Regions from separate parts of the Homo sapiens genome. Here regions 1, 2, 3 and 5 are each linked to region 4. The links are contacts of gene promoters, found by promoter capture Hi-C in blood cells and fetal thymus (Javierre and others, 2016). All regions are on one chromosome and are shown on one strand. Each heading gives the region's core, a stretch centred on a gene start or on the middle of the fragment in contact. The rest is flanking DNA. Distances are from core to core; before and after follow the strand shown.

Region 1 (2,700 bases), core at 29-2,528, 330 kb before region 4:
GGAACTCTACAACAATCTATTAACATTGCTAACTACAAGGGGTTGGAGTTAGAATGGAGTGGGAGAGATTATTGATTTTTTACTTTACTTTGTTGTTTAGCATATTGCAATGCATGCGTTACTTCCATAATTAAGAAAATCTAATACACATTTTTATAAAAATTCAAGGTGTCCTCAGATATGTTCAAGCCCAAAAGAATCTTATACCTGGACCCCCCAGTCCCTAGCCCCTGGTAAGTATTTGCAAAAAATGTTGGATGAATGATGAAATGAGGAAGAATGAAATGTTTAGCTCAATATCTCATTTCTTGGATGGTTTGTAAAGCTTTCAATAAAACAGGAGCCTTGAGGCAGTTGGTCATTAATGAATAACTCATCATCAGAGGTCTGGATTGAATATTAAAGCAGTCCCAGCAGTCAACCGTGCCCCTTGTTAAACATGGTCCCTGCTGCAACTAGTCTAGGTCCAGGCTCATATTCTAGCTGACAGCTTGGAGAGGAGTGATAGTCATATTTCCTCACGTAACCATCCTCATTTTTAGGGTTGACAGTTCTGCTGCTGCAATGACAGGGAGGTGGGTGGGTGAGTCCTTTGGGTGTTGCTGGGATGTTAAGTCCTGGGGTTGTGACTGGGGAGAGTGATGTCACCCTTGATAATTTCTGTAGACTCAGGCAGAGCGGCTCACTAAGATAAAAACCTCTTATAAGTAGGTTTTTCTTTCTTTTTAGTAAACAGGTTGCTCATCACTCTTCGACAGCTCTGACCCCTTGGCTGCAGAGTGGGTGCTGGGTGTTGGGAGAGGGGCATGCATGGAGGTCCTTCTTATCCCATGTCTCATCTGATTTTTCTTCAGTCTCCTCCTCCTCACTTTCAGAGCAGAGAGTCCTTATGCGCCACTGGGACTCCCCATGCCCTTCCCTGTCTGTCCGTGTCTTGCTGAGCCAGGCAGACTCCTCGCTTTCCAAAGTGACAGTTCATTTTCAGATTCCCTGTTCACGTTTCCATTTTGCAAGTGACAGAGACCAGTGTGTTATTCCTCTTAAGTAGTGTAGCAGGAGCCTCTGGGAAGGAAACGTTTAGCCAAATGACTGACTCTAACGGAGAATTTTCAGGTATTTTGGTAGACCAAGGGATAGAATAATTTAGGGATAGAATAATTTAGGAATAGGTTGAAGTTCCTGTTGCTAAATGACATTCCCCACCCTCCACTCCCCCGACTTTTTTTTTTTTGGAGACAGAGTCTCACTCTGTCACCCAGGCTGGAGTGCAGTGGTATGATCAGGGTTTACTGTAGGCTTGACCTCCCGGGCTCAGGTCATCCTCCCACCTCAGCCTCCCAGGTAGCTGGGACCACAGATGTGCACCATCATGCCTGGCTATTTTTTTTTTTTTTTGTATTTTTTTGTAGAGACAGGGTCTCACCATGTTGCCCAGGCTGGTCTTGAACTTCTGGGCTCAAGCGATCTCCCCAGTTTGGCCCCCCAGAGTGCTGGGATTACAGGTGTGAGCCACCATGCCCGACCCATTTTCCCCCTTTTTATAAAAGCGATAAGTGTTCAATTCATACCACTTGCAAAACGCAGAAAGACACAGAAAATTGAACAGCACATTCCTCCATAATCCCTTTAGTCAAGATGACTCATCGCAACAGATACACACACAGTGTAAATATATATTTACAAAAAATATACTTTGTATATTCTTCTGTAGCCAGTTCTTTTCACTTAGCAATATCTTGTGAGTATAGTCCCATAACTATAAATATTCATCTATACTGTGAGTTTTTTTCCAGTTGGAAAAATTTCAAACAACGCAAAACATAAAAAACAATTAAGATCTCTATTATTGCCATCCTCAGGGATAACCATTATCACTTTAAAAATATTCTCTTGCCTTTTTTTCTATGCGTATGCACACTAGAATCTAATCCCTATACAGATGCTCCTCAATTTACAATATGGATGTGACCCCATTGTGAATCAAGGAATGTACTGAATGCCTATTGCTTTCTCACCATCATAAAATGAAAAAATCAAAGCATCATAAGCTGGGGACTGTCTGCAGTGTCCTGGCTTGCTTTACCTACCCTTGTGTCCTCAGCACCTTGAAGAAGGTCTGGCATGTAGCAGATGCTTGGTAAATATTGTTAAATGAATGCAAAATTATAAATGCATATTTAGTAGGGTTCCTGGAGTAGAATCTGCTTCTACGTTTTTCCCCCAAAGCTTGTAAAACCCTCATTTAAAATGTTACATGTATTTTCTGTTTTCTGGGAAGGGGACTGGAGTTTACCTTTGAGCAGGACCATCCCTTGATTCTGGGTGTGAGCACTTGGTGAGAAGAAAATAAGCAAAATAACTATCCACGGTTCTTGGGGATGCCCTGAAAGCTCAAATACTGAAGCTGCAGATGGAGCAGTTAAGTATTCTAAAGGGAACCTAAAGCAAACTGTGTTTGTTGGTAGAACATGCCCCTGCAGGGTTGGAGCAAAATCTGTTTCTAAACTTAGAGTTTGGCTGCCCCAGGCCTGAACGCACTTGTTTGCTCTTGGGAGACAGGGTGTGCATTCTCATCCAAGCATTTGCTTGCTGGAGTTGAGGATTGAGGACCAGATGGTGGCAGAAGGGATATGCAGGCTTGCTCTTGCTCTCACCTGAGGCTGGAGAGAAGTGCCACGTCTGGTAAGGAGTACCCTGGTC
Region 2 (2,700 bases), core at 20-2,519, 350 kb before region 4:
GCAGGCTGTGCACTGGGAAATTAAATTGCTTGCATTTTTACTTAGTTCTAATCATGCCACCAGCCATGGGATTTACGAGGCCGTAAAGTCTTGAGCACATTGCTCACTGAAGGCCTTGCTCATGGCTGCCTGCATGGTGTCCTTGACAAGAAGCATTCTCCAGGAGCTCCGGGCTCAGCTGTCCGTTTGTTCCACAAACACATTCTAGGCACCTACTGTGTGCTGGGGGTAGAGTGGTGAGCAGTGCAGATGTGGAATTTGTCCTCTTGTTATCTGCAGCTTCCTAAGGATACAGGCATTGCCAAATAGTTTCACAAATAAATATAAAATTGCCAGCTGGGGTTAGAGGAGTGATGGAAAGGTTTAAGATGCTATGAGAAGCCACAGAGGTTGAATGGTGTTTCCCTCTGAGAAAAAAGGTATGTCCATGTCCTAACCCCCAGGACTTGTAAAAACAACCTTATAGAAAAGGCCTTTCTAGGTGTAATTAAATTAAGCATCTTGAAATGAGATCACCCTGGATTACTGAGGTGGGCCCTAAAAAATAAGTGTCCTTATAAGAGATAGAAGGCCATGTGAATATGGAGACAGAGATTAGAGTGATGCAGTCACAAGCCACAGGACTCAGAGCCACCAGAACCTGAAAGAGGCACAGAGATTCTTGCCTAGAGCCTCCCCCGCGATCCTAGCCCTGCTCCAGAGACACTTCTGGTCTAGCTGGGGAGGTGAGACTGAAGTGACTTCCTTGTCTGGGGTAAATACTTGGGATATTCGTTGTCTTGTGCCAAGAACATTTAGGACACGGACACACATGAGGAGTTTAAGAGCAGAGGTTTAGTAGGCAAAAGAAAGAGAAAGCAGAACAGCTCTCTAGTGAGAGGGAGAGGCTTCCAAAAGGAAAGACCCGCCTGTAGTGGAGTTTGCCAGATTTTATAGGCAGGCTTGTGGAGGTGGTGTCTGATTTAGGTAGGGACCGCAGATTGGCTGGATCAGGTGTGACGTTTACATAGCATTTGGGGAAGGCTGCCCAACCCACTCTAATCTTACTATGCAAATGGCCCCTCCCCTTGGCTGGCGCCATCTTGTCTGCTCCTTACTGTACACGTGTCTGACAAAGAGAAGGGGAGATGGAGCCACCATCTTGAACATGATTGGCACAACGGCCGGCATCTATGTCTGCCGCTCGATTTTACAGGCTGCTCTTTGTTAGAAAAGAAAATGATTTGGGGCTGATTTTCATTAAAAGGAAAACCTTACCGAGGACTTCTGTACCCTATCTGCCTAAGTAATTTCTTTTTAACTCCTATATCAAGCCTAATCTAGAGACTTATCTAGAGTTTATAGTTGAGCCTTAAGTAGTGTACAGAGATTCACAGGTGACAAAGATGATTGCAGGCTGAGAAAATCAAGTCAATGAGGGCTTCCCAGGGGAGGTGGCCCTGAAGCAAGGGTGTTGATTGGCTTGTAGAGAAACAAGGAAGACGCTGATGTCAGAAGCCAAAATAACCCCCACGTGTGAAAACTCTGCATCATAATGAATGCCTACCGCATGTGAGGCACTTTGCCTTCACTCTCATTCAATCCTCAGACAACTTTATTTGTATCCTCATTTTACAAGTGGGGAAACTGAGGACCATTGAAGTTACACACAGATAGTAATTGGCCCAACTGGGATTGGCAACCACACAGGTACCCCAGGACTCTCAATGTGGCTTCCATCCCTGCTCTCCTCTCCTTGTGACCAGAGCTGAGAGAAGTCCAGGTCTCTGGCTTCTGTTCAGGATGCTTAGAAAAAAAAAATCCACCTTTTAAATCTCTTTCTTTCTGGCTAGGAAAATTGTCCATAAGGAGGTGAAATAGGCCAGGCCAGAAAAAAAAATTATCTTTTTTATGAGGTGACTGCTACTAGTGTGAAATCTTCCTTTCAAGAATAAAATATCAGGCCTGTTGTGGTGGCTCATGCCTGTAATCCCAGCACTTTGGGAGGCCAAGGCAGGAGGATTGCTTGAGGCCAGGAGTTCAAGACCAGACTGGGCAACATGTCAAGATCTATCTCTAAAAAAGATTTAAAAATTAACGGCATGGTGGTGTGTGCCTGTCGTCTCATCTGCTAGGGAGGCCAAGGTGGGAGAATGGCTTGAGTTCAGGAGTTCGAGGCTGCAGTGAGCTGCGATTGCACCACTGCACTCCAGCCTGAGTAACAGAGCCAGACCTTATCACTTAAAAAAAAGAAATCAGGGCAGCCTATCCAACAAATGCTGGCTTTTCATAATTCTAATAACTGTAAAGTAAAATATTAGATTAACCAGTGCTCAGGACTCACTATCTTGCCATTCCTGGTGTGGACTCCCCGTGAAAATGGACAGTGTGCCAAATTGGGGAAGGAGCGTGACCCTTTGTTTTTATTTTCTCTGGATGGAGCTGCCTAAATGCAGTTGACAGAAATGGAAATTTGTTCCCCTGAGAAATTTCACGGCCTCCTGACCTTTGTCACAGCCTGGCCCTGGAGGAGAAGGAGTCAAAGATGGGCCGTGTCAGGCTGCTGCATGCAGGGACTCTGGGGACCGGGGGCAGCTTATTGGGGGGCAGGGGGATGCCAATGGACTCCAGCATTTTCTTTTAGAAACCGGGACTCACCTGCCATCCTCACACATGCTTTGGGGAACAGAGAGGCAGAGTGAACTATTAGGGCTCACTCTG
Region 3 (2,700 bases), core at 30-2,529, 370 kb before region 4:
TCTTCCCTGCATGAATCAGGTGATTTCCTTTTTTGGTTCATTTTGAATTTAATGAGAATTTAAAGACACTGGCTAAGCAGCATACAGAACCCTTCCAGATTTTTATAATTTTCCTCCCCCTCCATCTTTATCTTACAACTAATTCTTCATCAATTTCTATTTAGAAGCTTGCTTTTCTCAGGGCTATTCGAAACACTTAACTTAGTTTTCACAGAAACAACTTTTCTTTTTCCCTTCTTTTTTTTAGACAGGGTCTCACTCTGTTGCTCAGGCTGGAGTGCAGTGGTGCAATCACAGCTCACTGTAGCCTTGACCTCTAGAGCTCCAGCCATCCTCCTGATAACCTGGGACCACAGGCATGAACCACCATGCTGGCTAATTTTTGCATTTTTTGTAGAGATAGTGTTTCACCATGTTGCCCAGGCTGGTCTCAAACTCCTGAGCTCAAGCGATCCTCCCACCTTGGCCTCTCACAGTGCTGGGATTACAGGCATGAGCCACTGTGCCTGGCCTTTCCCTCCTATTTAATCCTACTACATACTACTTAACTAGTTACAAATGAAACTGGCATAAATAGGTTTGGCAGCAAACAACTGATTTTGCTACACATACAGCTCAACACGTGGCAGCTGGTGGCTTACTGGTCTCTGATGTTGGGTGTGCAGTGACTCAAGCTAAATATGAGAAAACATCAGACAAATTCAAGTTGAATGAAATTCTAGAAAATAAAGGCCAGTACTTTTCAAAAGTTATCGAGATCATAAAAGACAAAACTATTACATATTGGACGACACTGAGGAAATATGACAATGAAGTATTTGGCTGATTCTGAATTGTATTCTTTTACTAGAGAGAACTTTATTAAAACAATTGGTGAAACTTAAATGGGGTCTGGGGAGAACATGGTAGTAGATCAGTGTTCGTTGCTTGATTTTGATGGTTGTATTATGGTCCTGTAGGAGAGTTACATGCAATGTGGAATCCTGGATTGGATCCTGGACCAGCAAATGGTCAAAAAAATTTAGTTTTTTTTATTAAGTGTTCATTAATGGAAAAAACTGATGAAATTTGAATGTCCACAGATTCACCAATGTTCATTTCTTGGTTTAGATAGTTGTTGTGTTGTTATGCAAGATATCAACATTAGGGAACGTTGGGTAAAGGACACAGAAAAACTCCAGGTATTCAATTTTTGAGTCTAAATTTTTCAAAAGAAAAAGTTCTTGCTCTTTTTTTTTGAGGCAGAGTCCCACTCTGTTGCCCAGGCTGGATCACCCAGTGGTGCGATCACAGCTCACTGCAATCTCTGCCTCCCAGGTTCCAGTGATTCTCATGCCTCAGCCTCCTGAGTAGCTAGGACTATAGGTGTGTACCACCACGCCTGGCTAAATTTAATTAATTTAAATGAAGGCCAGGGGTTCGAGCTCCCAGGTGAGGCCAATGAAGTTGCTGGTCCACAGACCACGCTTTGGGAAGCCCCCACATCTTGGTTGATTTTAATTATTTATTGATTGATTTTCTGGGCATGTGAAATATTTCCATAACTCTAGGAGTCAGAGGTATACAAAAAGGTGTTCCAAATGAGTGTCTCTCCCTCTACCTCTCTTCTACCCCAAGGAATCTGTGGCCTGGGAACTCTTCAAGAAATGCTGACATGAAGTTTGAGAAGTGCTGGTTCAGAGAGGCTTGAAAAAGCACCTGGGCTTTATTTGGAAGCGGAGCAGCAGCTGATGCCTCCCTAAATGTTCTGCAGATCCCAGAGCAAAGACCTCTGAGTCTACCGCCCCACCCTGCCCAGCCACGGCTCACTCCTGCGGTGGGCTCTGCCAGAGGAGGAAGAGTGGGACCCTCAAGCTCTCTCTGGGTCCTCAGCTCCAGGTCAGATAACCATTTTTGGGAGAGGGTTGAGATGCTGCAAGGGGTGGCTTTGGAGGGAGCTCTGACACTTGGGAATTCTGATCATTTCTGGCACATCTGGGTCTAGGATTAAATAAAATATGGGTTACTTCCCAGGTGAGAGGTTCAGAAAATGGGAGGCATCTCTTTGGCCTGCAGCATGAGGATAGTTCAGTTGTCTTCCCTGTGACTGGAAGAAAAGGTGGCACTCTCTTTCCCAGTGTTGTCCTTGGGGCTGTGTCCCCCTAAAATACAAGTAATAGCCCACTTGGCAGCCCAGGCTCCCCATCTTGGTTATTTGGCCTGATAACCCCTGAAAACCCCCTGCTCGTCCCTCCTCGTCCCCTCCAGTTTTGGCTTCTCACCTGGGTGCCCAGAAAACTTTGCCAAACCTTAACCAACTTCATGCTACAGCTGTGCCTTGGTGTTCCCTCTAGAGAGAGCGTTTTGTGATAGTACCAAGCACTGCAACAGAATACGCTCACTTAAGCTTCCACTGAGAGCCCGTCCTGGGCCCTGGGAAACCGCAGTAAACAAAACAGACTCAATTCCTGCCCTCACACAGCTTACTTTCTGGTGGAGGAGAGAGACACTAAACGAAATAGGTAAATGATATGGTATATTCGAGGCTGACAAGCCCTGTGGAAAAAATTAAGTGGGGAAGAGGGTGAGGAGTGGTTTGTGATAGAGGTGGTGAGTTATGTGGATGTCTGAAGGGAAGAGTGTTGCAGGGGGAACAGCACATGCAAAAGCCCTGAGGCAGGAGCTCATGGTGTATTTATGGAATGGCAAGGAAGCCAAAGG
Region 4 (2,700 bases), core at 1-2,500:
TTCCCTCTCTCTCTTTACACACACACACACACACACACACACACACACACACACACACACACCCCAGAATGGACATAAGCAAATCTGCAAGGCACCCTACACAAAGCCCATTGCCTGGGCAGCTCTGGCTGTTGGCATCAGATGACAGGCAGCCTTATTCACCAGAGTATCACCCCCAAGAAACATCTTCTACAGCCAACTTGGAAATATGACTAGCTCCCTCTCCCTTGGAACTCTGCACTGGCCAGAAAGAGGGTGATTCATAAATCAAATTTACGGGGCCCACTGCCTCCCCGCTGGCCCACCTCCGCGGGAGAAGCCCTTGAATGCATGCCTGTAGGGGGCACAGGAATGCCCAGAGGAAGGATGCCTGGATGAGCCGGAATGTCCCACCCTCTGCCAGAGGAGAGAAAGTTTGTCATCTACGCAGAGCTGGGCTGTCACCACTCTGGGTTCCTCACTCGCCGGGCTCTGGACGACGAGCCCCCAACCTGCGGGGAAGCGTCTGGAAAGCGAAGCCCAGATCTAGGGGCAGAAGACATTTCGCACCAGCTCCGCGCCCGGCTCCCTCCTGGAGCCCTCTTCCCAGGTCCAGGCACCTGAGTCCTTACCTGAAGGGTCTCCGCCACTTGCAAACTCTGCCAGCTGAGCTCAGCAGGCGCCCGGGGTCCCTCTCTGCGACTCCCGCGTCCCGCTTGGCGCGCCCGCTCTGTGGGCGCCTTCCCAGCTGCTGCAGTGGCTTTAAGGAAAGGGGAGCCTGGATTTCCTTTCTCGCCACCAAGGCTCCTCCTGCCGGGCCCTGGGGCTATTTCTCCAGGTCTGGCTCAAGGGGCATCCTCTGCGCCTCCAGCGGGAAAGTGGGATAGTGTGCGCCTTGAATTGCAGCAGCGGCGACAGCGGTGGCCGGGGACGAGGAGGCGGTGGCGACGCCAGCCGGCGAGCCAGGGAGGCGGGCGGAAGCGAGAGGAAGTGAAAGCCGGGCTCCTGTGAGCCTGGCGCTCGGGCGGGCGGCACTGCGGGTGCCCCGAGCCGCGGCGAGGCCCCGCGCGGGCACCCGCCCCGGGGATGGAGATGCCCGGGCCCGGTGCGCGCAGGGCACCGGCTGCGGCTCGGCGCGGAGCTCCGGCCGCCTGGCTCTCTCTCGCTGCCTCGCCGCTGCCTCCTTGGCTGCCTTGCTCGCTCCCCTGGACTTCACGTCTCCAGCCCTAGCTCCCGCGCCGCTGCCGCCGCCGCCACCAGCAGCGCGCCTCAGCCCGGCGCGCTCCTCGCACGGAGCCACAGCACTGCCTACCGCTTAACTCCTTGCATGCCACCTGGCCCTCCCGCAGCCTCCCGGGGAGCCGGGCATAGCCGGTGCCAGGCCGGCTGAGCATATCGGGCAGGGGCCTCAGCCTTCCGGCCTCAGTGTCCTCTTCTGTAAAATGGGTTCGAGACCCAAGCCCAAACCATAGGGTCGCTGGAAAAATTCACTGAGCGGATTACGCAAAGTGCCAAGCTGCCTGACATGGGGAGTATGCACCCCAAATGGCAGAGTGCTTGCTGCTGCTGCTACTGTTGTCGACCAAGAAGCTTAGCACGGTGCCTCACAAATAGTAAACACCCAATAAAGCGCAGTTTCGGTTTTTGGTATTTAGTTTGTAGTTTTAACAGGTGGTAAGTTTTAGCTGTGTAACCTCTGGGTGATCACTCGCCCTCTCTGAGCCTGTTGCTTTCCAATCTCTGTGACCTTGGGCAAGTCACAGCACCTCTCTGAACCTTTGTGTCCCCATCTGTAAAATGGGGACAGTAATGCCCGTAGTCAAAGAATTCCCAGAGAAGCTCTGGCAGAAGAGCCCTTCTCATGACGGGGCAGGGCATCTAACGGGAGCTGGACATCTTTTCTTTCTTGATCTGGCTGGTGGCTGCACAGGTGTTTGTGACAAGTCGTTGTACTGTACATTTACATATCAAGTGCTTTTCTGTACATGGGTTAAATCTTAACTGTTTTTTGTTTTTTTGTGTTTCTTTTTTTTTTTTTTTTTTGAGAGACCATTCTTGAGCAAAACAGAACTGGGTTCAAGCATGGGCTCTAGTACTTTCTGGTTGTGTCACCGTGACCAAGTTATTTCATCTTAAGGAGCCTCAGTTTCCTCATCCATAAAATGGGAACAATGATAATACCTACTGGATAGGTGATATAAGGATTAAAGGGTTTCAAGCAAAATGGCAGATATAAAGCTTGAGGCCTGAACTCAACCAGTATCTGCTGGTACTGATCACATATTCTACAGTATTATATATGTCCCATAGTAAGGGGTGTCTGGGAAATAACAAAGAGAACTGAATTTGAATCTCCTCAACAGTTGCCAGGTAAAATACAGGATGCCCAGTTAAATTTTTAGTATAAGTCTGAAATTTTACATGGGATATACTTTCACTATTTTTTTTACATTGTTTACTCAGAACCCAAATATAATTGGATGTCCTTTATTTTATTTTGCTGCATCTTGCAATCCTAACTCCATAATTACCAGCTGTATGTCCTAAAGTAAATGACTTAGCCTCTCTGGCCTTGGTTGCCCAATCGGTAAAATAGGACTAAAGATTTCTTCTAATGTTGACAAGAGAATGAAACTGATTAAAGTGGGTGGGTGTTCCCAGCAGCACATGTTAAGCCCTCCACATTTGTTCCGTACACTTCCTGTCAATCATCTCCCTCCC
Region 5 (2,776 bases), core at 66-2,565, 300 kb before region 4:
AGTGGAGGTGAATGAATAAATGAATCATTTCATATCAGACTGTGGTGGAGGCCACACTTGACTAGATCCCGGTTCCAAATTTCATGCTCCATGTGAGTGATTCGCTGGAGTGGGTGTGCCAGGTGGATTAGATGTATGCCAGTACAGTTAGTGATGGTGATGCAGGTAAGAATAGTTGTATTTTTTAACTTTTAACTTTTTGTTTATTATTAGAGACAGTCCTGCTTTGTTGCTCAGGCTGGAGTGCAATGGTGCAGTCATGGCTCACTGTAGCCTCAGCCTCCGGGGCTCAAGAGATCCTCCCACCTCAGCCTCCTGAGTAGTTGGGACTACATATGTACATCACCACACCCGGCTAATTTTTAATTTTTTTTTTGTAGAGACAGAGTTTCCCTATGTTGGCCAGGCTGGTCTTGAACTCCTGGGCTCAAGCGATACTCCTGTCTCAGCTGAGATTACAGGCGTGAGCCATTTCATCTCACTAAGAACAGCTGTATTGATGGAGCACTTCCTACGTGCTGGGCACTGTGCCAAACATATTGCATGCCTTCTCGTAGTACGCTCAAAGTCACCCTATGAATAAGGGCTATTATTTATATCCATTTCATGGATGAATAACCTGAGACTTATAAAGGTTAAAGAACTTGCCCAAGGTCATCCATCTGGTGGTGTTCAAGCTTGAATTCCCTCCTGTGTTTGTCTGACACCAGTCTGAGCATCTGGTCCACACTACATTGCCCAGGGCAGGTGAATGACTTGCCCAAGGTCACACGGCAAGCAGTGGTGCAGGTGAGGCTGGCCCAGGATGCCAGCTACCTTCCTTCCTTCAGTTCTGCCTTCTCTGACCTTCAGCCCTCCCTCCAGGGCGAAGCCTCTCAAGCCTGAAACCCACCTCACTGTGCCTGGGACCCCTTCAAAGCCCCAAGGAAGGACAGTTGCAGGAATCCAGGTGGGAGTTTCAACTGTTCCCTTCAGATCCCCACTGTGATCGAGTGAATTTCCAGACTGGATCCAATTTCCAAACAGAGCTGACATGTATCGGGCATTCGGCAGCAACAAGCCAAGCCTGGCTGCGTGCGGTGGGGATGGAGGAGGCTAATAATTTGCCGCTGGCGTCCCATTACCAGCAAGTTGTCAGAACACACTAGCTTGGGAGGACAGTGTCAATGATGGCGCCACGTCTGAGACAGAGAACCTGAGAGGAGCAAGGTGGGGGCATTCTTCTGGAGCTTCTGCGGTTGCTCCAAGCAGGGGCTGGCATACTTTCCATCTCAGACACCACAGGCAGCAAAAGGAAAAAAAAAATCACAATGCCTTTTGGTGTATCTGTGGGCTTATGGCCTGTGGAGTCCTGGAACAGAATCATCGCATGTGCATGGGAGGCAGGACGAAGTCGTGATTAGGAGCAGGGCTTTGGAGGCGGAACTGGGTTGACCTAGCTGTGTGACCTCGAGTCTTATTTATTTATAAAATAATTGCTTTGTTTCTTTATAAAATAAGAATAATGTGACCAGGTGCAGTGTCTCACTCCTTTTATTCCAGCACTTTGGGAGACCAATGCAGGTGACAACCTGGGTAACCTAGTGAGATCCTGTGTCTACAGAAATTTTTAAAAATTAGCCAGGTGTGGTGGTGTGCATCGGTGGTCGCAGCTACTCGGGAGGTTGAGGTGGGAGGATCACTTGGGCCTGGGAGTTTGAGGCTGCAGTGAGCCATGATCATGCCACTGCACTCCAGCCTGGGCAACAGAGCAAGACCCTGTCTCAAAATTAAAAATACAAGGAAAGAATATGCTACCTTTCCTGTAGACTTGTCAGGTAATTTAAATGAGCAAGTACTGAGAAATGTCTTAACAAGGCACCTGGCACCTAGCAAATACTCAGTTTCCTCAAAGGGGCTAATAAAACTTACCTCAAACGATTGTTGTAAATTTTAAATGAAGTCTAAGCTTATTTGACTGTGTGTTTGTGTGCATATATACCTACATGTGTTTGTATACACACATACACATACATCAACATATACATAGATACATGTGTCTTGGTACGTGTGCATAGCACATAGTAGTTTCTGTCTAATGTTGGCTATGATTATTATGCCAAGTTGAAATCCATGTCCCTGTACTTCTCATCCACTGATTTTACCTTGAGAACCCAAACAGAACATTCATCCATTCTGCAGCCAACATCTAACAATAGTTTCTGAGTGTCTACTGTGTGCTAGACATAGTCGATGCATAGTAGGTGCTGGGTTCTTGGTGGCCCCAAAGGTGTGCCGCTCAGATCCCCCTCAAAGGCAGCCAACTGACTGCCTTTTGCTGCTGCATCGGTGGCTCCAGGTCTGGCTGTGCTTCTCCCAAATGTTCAGGTCTAGCTGTGCTTCTCCCAAATGCTCTCGGCCAAAGACTCAGCACTTCGGGGTAATAGAGGTCGGCCAGTCCTGCCCAACATGGGACCCCTCTATATTAGTTTTCTGTGGCTGCTATAACAAGTTGCCACAAACTGGTGGTTTAACATACACACACAAATGTATTCCCTACCAATTTTGGAAGGCAGAAGTTCAAAATCAAGGTGTTGGCTGCACTCCGAGGCTCTGGGGGAGAAGCCTTCCTTGCTTCTTTCCACCTCTGATGGCTGTCAGCCTTGTGGCTGCGTAACTCCAGTCTGTGCCTCTGTTTTCACATTGCCTTCTCCTCTTCTCTTGGTGTCTTCTCTTCTGTCTGTCTTGAACCCCTCTCTACCTTTCTCTTATAAGAACACTTGGAATGGATTTAGGG

Evidence for each region. Contacts are between HindIII fragments. The CHiCAGO score rates a contact against its expected background, and 5 or more counts as called.
Region 1: a fragment that was not itself captured here is called in contact with the fragment with the promoter of WSCD2 in region 4 in 3 of 17 cell types (endothelial precursors, M0 macrophages and M2 macrophages); the score reaches 7.1 in endothelial precursors.
Region 2: a fragment that was not itself captured here is called in contact with the fragment with the promoter of WSCD2 in region 4 in 2 of 17 cell types (M1 macrophages and M0 macrophages); the score reaches 6.6 in M1 macrophages.
Region 3: a fragment that was not itself captured here is called in contact with the fragment with the promoter of WSCD2 in region 4 in 1 of 17 cell types (M0 macrophages); the score reaches 6.9 in M0 macrophages.
Region 5: a fragment that was not itself captured here is called in contact with the fragment with the promoter of WSCD2 in region 4 in 1 of 17 cell types (monocytes); the score reaches 5.2 in monocytes.

Annotation. Positions count from the first base shown.
Region 1 is chr12:108,459,163-108,461,862 of GRCh38, reverse strand. LINC01498 (long intergenic non-protein coding RNA 1498) reads left to right here. Exons shown (of 4, transcript NR_120483.1): 3 at 169-233; 4 at 2,279-2,438. Among named protein-coding and RNA genes, the nearest start is that of LINC01498, 13 kb to the left of the region's middle. The HindIII fragment of the contact is 1,901 bases long and covers 328-2,228 here.
Region 2 is chr12:108,476,159-108,478,858 of GRCh38, reverse strand. No RefSeq gene overlaps it. Among named protein-coding and RNA genes, the nearest start is that of LINC01498, 3.8 kb to the right of the region's middle. The HindIII fragment of the contact is 7,107 bases long and covers 1-2,700 here.
Region 3 is chr12:108,499,585-108,502,284 of GRCh38, reverse strand. No RefSeq gene overlaps it. Among named protein-coding and RNA genes, the nearest start is that of FICD, 14 kb to the left of the region's middle. The HindIII fragment of the contact is 2,219 bases long and covers 170-2,388 here.
Region 4 is chr12:108,127,838-108,130,537 of GRCh38, reverse strand. It overlaps WSCD2 (WSC domain containing 2), which reads right to left and starts at 1,250. Exons shown (of 9, transcript NM_014653.4): 1 at 612-1,250. RefSeq lists a silencer at 940-1,029. The HindIII fragment of the contact is 4,828 bases long and covers 1-1,571 here.
Region 5 is chr12:108,428,191-108,430,966 of GRCh38, reverse strand. No RefSeq gene overlaps it. Among named protein-coding and RNA genes, the nearest start is that of LINC01498, 44 kb to the left of the region's middle. The HindIII fragment of the contact is 1,271 bases long and covers 680-1,950 here.